Linked DNA regions of Homo sapiens: region 2 is linked to region 1. Evidence: promoter capture Hi-C in 16 types of primary human blood cells and fetal thymus (Javierre and others, 2016). All regions are on one chromosome and are shown on one strand. The core of a region is centred on a gene start or on the middle of the fragment in contact, and the rest is flanking DNA. Distances in the headings are between cores, read along the strand shown.

What was found. Contacts are between HindIII fragments. The CHiCAGO score rates a contact against its expected background, and 5 or more counts as called.
Region 2: a fragment that was not itself captured here is called in contact with the fragment with the promoter of DDX19A in region 1 in 3 of 17 cell types (activated CD4 T cells, non-activated CD4 T cells and erythroblasts); the score reaches 5.4 in activated CD4 T cells.

Annotation. Positions count from the first base shown.
Region 1 is chr16:70,345,551-70,348,321 of GRCh38, reverse strand. DDX19A (DEAD-box helicase 19A) reads right to left here and starts at 1,419. Exons shown (of 12, transcript NM_018332.5): 1 at 1,274-1,419. The coding sequence starts at 1,330. DDX19A-DT (DDX19A divergent transcript) reads left to right here and starts at 1,575. Exons shown (of 5, transcript NR_039997.1): 1 at 1,575-2,123. RefSeq lists enhancers at 1,175-1,664, 1,183-1,800, 1,801-2,419. The HindIII fragment of the contact is 29,277 bases long and covers 1-2,771 here.
Region 2 is chr16:70,545,853-70,548,643 of GRCh38, reverse strand. It overlaps SF3B3 (splicing factor 3b subunit 3), which reads right to left. Exons shown (of 26, transcript NM_012426.5): 11 at 202-274. Among named protein-coding and RNA genes, the nearest start is that of SNORD111, 9.2 kb to the right of the region's middle. The HindIII fragment of the contact is 3,294 bases long and covers 1-2,791 here.

The DNA.
Region 1 (2,771 bases), core at 170-2,669:
TGCCCTTCCTCCCACTTTCCTATTCCTGTTATTGGGACGTTAGTAGTACCAATAGGATCCAGGTTGAAAACAGAAACCTTTGGCTTTATCTCCCTTCTCTCCTTTATTATGTTAGCAAGTCCTACCCATTCTACCTTCATATCTTATACCCATCCCTTAATTTTCACTTCCACTGCCCAACATAGGCCCTCTATCTCGGGGCTATCAGAATAACTTCTACACTGATATTTCTATTAGCCATCACTTCTAACATATTCTGTTCTCTGTAGTTCAATAAATCCTTGCCAGCCTTGTCTAATTCTGTCAATAGCCCTCTCAAAAATCCCCATACCGGCTGGGCGCGGTGACTCACGGCTGTAATCCCAGCACTTTGGGAGGCCGAGGTGGGCGGATCACTTGAGGTCGGGAGTTCGAGACCAGCCTGACCAACATGGAGAAACCCCGTCTCTACAAAAAATACAAAATTAGCCGGGCGTGGTGGCGCATGCCTGTAATCCCAGCTACTCGGGAGACTGAGGCAGGAGAATCGCTTGAACCCGGGAGGCGGAGGTTGCGGTGAGCCGAGATGGCGCCATTGCACTCCAGCCTGGGCAACAAGAGCAAAACTCTGCCTCAAAAGAGAAACAACTACAACAAAAAAAAAGACAGTCCATTATCACTAAACAAACCTAAAGTTTAGGTCTTAGATATAAGAACAGAAAGCCACAGTGTATGCTGTAATTACATTCCAGTTGAATGAATATTCATTACTGAAAGAACAAGTACATGAAACCGTTACTTTACACATCAATGAAACAATTTGTAGTGCCTCCTTCCAACATCTGCAGTAGATTGAGGTATTAAATCCAAAAGTCAATCTGTTATTCTGCAAAGAGCTACAAACTACCAACCACGTTAAGCATGGATCTAAGAAATGTTAAATACAGAGTAGTACAGAAACATGCGAAGAACAGTCGCGTAATGAAAAAGAGAATCAGAATCTAAACTTGGCTTTCCTTATAATCGTCACCGAGGAGGTCAATAGAGGAATGACAGCATGCATAGTGGGGCGGATTTACCAAAGGATGAAGTCCTTAACCAGCCCAGATGGAGATAAAAAGCTCGACATTGGTCTCTTTAGCTCTAAGAGCAAATCAAGGGCAAGTGACTGCCCTAGCAAACTGCAGGAGCGCGTTGCCCAGGGGCCTCCCCAACCCGGGGAGCTCCCTGTGCTTTTGGGAGGTTTCGCTTGGGCCCCTGCTACGTCCTCCTCGCCAGGAGCTGAGCTACTGACCGACTTGACAGCCGCTTCCTGCTCGTCCACCGCCAGGGCCCACGAGTCGGTGGCCATAGTCCCGGACAAGGGAGACCCACTTGTGAAAATATGCGCTGCACCACGTCGCAACGCGGGCCCTAACCTCGCCACCGGCGCGAGAATGCACCTCACGCGGACCGGAAGCGGCGGTGAGCACAGGTGACGTCAGTTCCCACCCAGCGTGCGACATCATCATTCTGCGCGGCGCCAGGTCTCTCCTCGGGCCTCGCCTTTCCCTTCGTGCGCAAACCTCGCGCTTTTTGCTCACCCTTCCAGGACGCGGCCTCCTCGCTTCTTAAAATGTCTGAGCTCTACGAAGTGGAACTGTTAGCCCTCCGTTTATTGCCTTACTTCACACTGAAATAAGCCAACGTTTATTTTATTTTATTTATTTTATTATTTATTTTATTATTTTTTTTCGAGACGGAGTCTCGCTCTGTCCCAGGCTGGAGTGCCGTGGCGGGATCTCGACTCACTGCAACCTCCGCCTCCGTGTTCAAGCTATTCTACCTCAGCCTCCCGAGTAGCTGGGATTACAGGTGCCCGCCACCACGCCCGGCTAATTTTTGTATTTTTAGTAGAGATGGGGTTTCACCATGTTGGCCAGGCTGATCTCGAACTGCTGACCTTGTGATCCTCCCGCCTCAGCCTCCCAAAGTGTTGGGATTACAGGCGTGAGCCACCGCGCCCGGCCCCCAACGTTTCTTTTTAAGCCTGTCATATCTCACATTAAATGTGTAAGTCTCTGAACTGTAGGGCTTTGAACAAAGGAAAGTTCCATGAGAATACTATATGATGCCAATTTCTACTGTTAGGAACGCGATAACAGGTAAGAAAACAAAAACCAAAACGCAACAGAAGACCCGTAAACCCCATAATTCCACCATCCAATAAACACAACACACAATGCGTTTTTTCGTTTCTTTTTTGAGTCAGGGTCTCATTGTGTCGCCCAGGCTGGAATGCAGTGGTGTGATCTCGGCTCACTGCACCCTTGACCTCCCACCTCAGCCTCCCAGGTAGCTGGGCCCACAGGCCCGCACCACCACTCCTGGCTAGTTTTTAAACTTTTTGCAGAGACGGAAGTCTTCATTATATTGCTCAGGCTGCTTTTGATCTCCTGCTAACTCCAGAGATCCTCCTGCCTTGGCCTCTCAAAGTGTTGGGATTACAGGCATGAGCCACCACACCTGGCCATTATGTTGAAGGACCACCAAATACATAATGTATAATCTATTTATATGAGATTCAAGAATAGGACAAATAAAATCTATGCTGATAAAAACTAACAGAGCTTACCTGTGGAGAAGGATGTTTGGTCCAGACACAAGAGAACTTCCTGGGTGATAGAATTATTCTGTATCTTGATTGGGACCTGGTTACATAGATGTGTAAATTTGTTAAGTCATGCTACTTTGTATTTCTAAACTCATGGAACCATTATTTACAGATATCACCCAGGCTGGAGTGCAGTGGC
Region 2 (2,791 bases), core at 171-2,670, 200 kb before region 1:
CCCTTTCCCACCTGCACAAAAAGAAATGGTAGGTGAAGGCATCCTGAACGGAAGAGCCTCAAAAACAGTGTTGGGCCAGAAAGTTTCTGGTATATGGTGCTAAATGAAATGATACAGAAGTATTATGAACGCAGCCTTTCAAGCCTTCTATGTCAATGGCACCTAGATCCTCATTTTGACTATTGGGAAAAAGCTGCTTACCTTCAATGTGTCGACGCACTGTCCAGACAGCGTTGGGGTTACCAGGTAGCTCAGAAACAGCCATTTCTGACACCTGACAGGAGAAGAGGGAAGCCACAGATCCAGTGAGCATGCAACTCAGCTACCTGCTTACAATCACATCAAAAAATAAGGTCTCAAAGGCAGGGTTCACAACGTATGCTGTATTTAAAGGATGAAACCACCTAGTGAAAGAAGAATCTAAGAACCAAACAGGCTGGTTCTTAGTGGCAATCCCCATGACAGTCTTAAGCAAAAGTTACAGGATGTCTGAGAGGGTACAGTTGCTGCAGGCAAAACCATACCCCTTTCCTTCAAGTACAATATGCCTTGATCATCCTCAGAACAGCAGTAACCACTGGGAATCAATCAGGCCATCTAAATTAGCATCCCCTTTCTTTCCCCAGCTCCCATAAGGCCAAATCCCATGTGGACCAATTCAAATGCCACCTCCTTTAACAAAATTATTCCCTTATCCCCTTGGCTGGCAGTCACCTCTCCCTTCTATAAGCACTCATAGAAATCAGTCACCACCGGCTGGGCCCAGTGGCTCACACCTGAAATCCCAGCACTTTGGGATGCCGAGGCGGGTGGATTGCCTTAGGTCAGGAGTTCAAGACCAGCTGGCCAACACGGTGAAACCCGTCTCTGCAAAAATATAAAAATTAGCCAGGCATGATGGCGGGTGCCGTAATCCCAGCTACTCGGGAGGCTGAGGCGGGAGAATCGCTTGAACCCGGGAGGCGGAGGTTGCGGTGAGCTGAGATTGCATCATTGCACTCCAGCCTGGGTGACTGAGCGAGACTCCGTCTCCAAAAAAAAGAAAGAAATCAGTCACCACCTCTTAGGGTACTAACTGTTTTGTCTTTCTGATTAGATTTTTATGCTCCTTAAAGTCAAGAGTGAATGATTCTCTACATGTCCTATAGGTTCTCAAACATAAGAGTAAACAAAACATCTAAGCCAAATTCAAAATGATCTAGAGGGGAAAACTGGGTGTAGGTTATACAGGAACTCTCTGTACTGTCTTTGCAATTTTTTTATAAATTTAAAATCATTATAAAATTAAAATTATTGAATGTTTTTAAATGATCTAGAGACAATAAACTAGCCACTTATATATAACGTGTAACCCACATCTTATAGGAAGAATTCATGTATATTCACAGAAAGACTAGCCCTTTTCCTAGTTTACTGGTATAATTAGAAGGAAGACCTAAGAACTTCATCATCAATAAAATTCAACTGTCAACTATGCTATAGTCTATACCAAATGTAAAACTGTCAGTCACCCTGGCTCAATTGAGACCACAATCTAGTTAGACAACAAGGTGTAACAAATAGACATAAAGGAATAAAGCAACGTTCAACAATTTAAAAAAAAATTTTTTTTTTTTGAGACGGAGTCTCGCTCTGTCGCCCAGGCTCGAGTGCAATGGCGCGATCTTGGCTCACTGCAAGCTCCACCTCCCGGGTTCACGCCATTCTCCTGCCTCAGCCTCCTGAGTAGCTGGGACTACAGGCGCCCGCCACCACGCCTGGCTAATCTTTTTGTATTTTTAGTAGAGACGGGGTTTCACCGTGTTAGCCAAGATGGTCTCGATCTCCTGACCTCGTGATCTGCCCACCTCAGAAAATATTTTTATATATAACAAAGGTTTGTCTATAGATTTGAAGTGGGGAGAGAAGTAGCAGGAAACTAAAAAATGATTCTTGAGTCATTTATCTCTTACACTATACAAAAATTTTCTGTTAATGCACATATGCATTTTTTTAGAGACAGTATCACTCTTTTGCCCAAGCTGGAGTACAGTGGCGTGATCTCGGCTCACTGCAACCTCTACCTCCCAGTTCAAGCTATTCTCCTGCCTTAGTCTCCTGAGTAGCTGGGATTACAGACACCCACCACCACTCTCGGCTCATTTTTGTAGTTTTAGTAGAGAAGGGGTTTCACCATGTTGGCCAGGCTGGTCTCGAACTCCTGACCTTGGGTGATCCAGCTGCTTCAGCCTCCTAAAGTGCTGGAATTACAGGCGTGCGCCACCGTGCCCAGCCGCACATATGCATTTTTTGTGTAAAGCACTAGCTTTCATCATATGCTCACTAGGATCCAATGAGAAATAAGTAACTAACGAATCAAGAGCAATGGCTCTTGGCCAGGCGCGGTGGCTCACGCTTGTAATCACAACACTTTGGGAGGGTGAAGTGGGAGGCTCACTTGAGCCCAGGAGTTCAAGACCAGCCCTGGCAAAATAGCAAGACCCTGTCTCTACCAAAAATAAATAAATAAATTAGCCAAGCGTGATGGCGCACACCTGTAGTCCCAGCTACTCCAGAAGCTAAGGTGGGAGAATTGCTTGCTTGAGACTGGGCGTTGGAGGCTACAGTGAAGCAAAGTCTCACCACTGCACTCAAAAAAACAAAAACAAAAACAACAACAACAAAAAACCAAAAACCAGACCTATGGCTCTAAATTGGGTCTGAGTCATTGAAATTTTGGTGAACTGATGAATATATTTTGGCAGAGACAAAACATTTTCAAATTCCCTGAAACACCAATGTTAACAGCTAA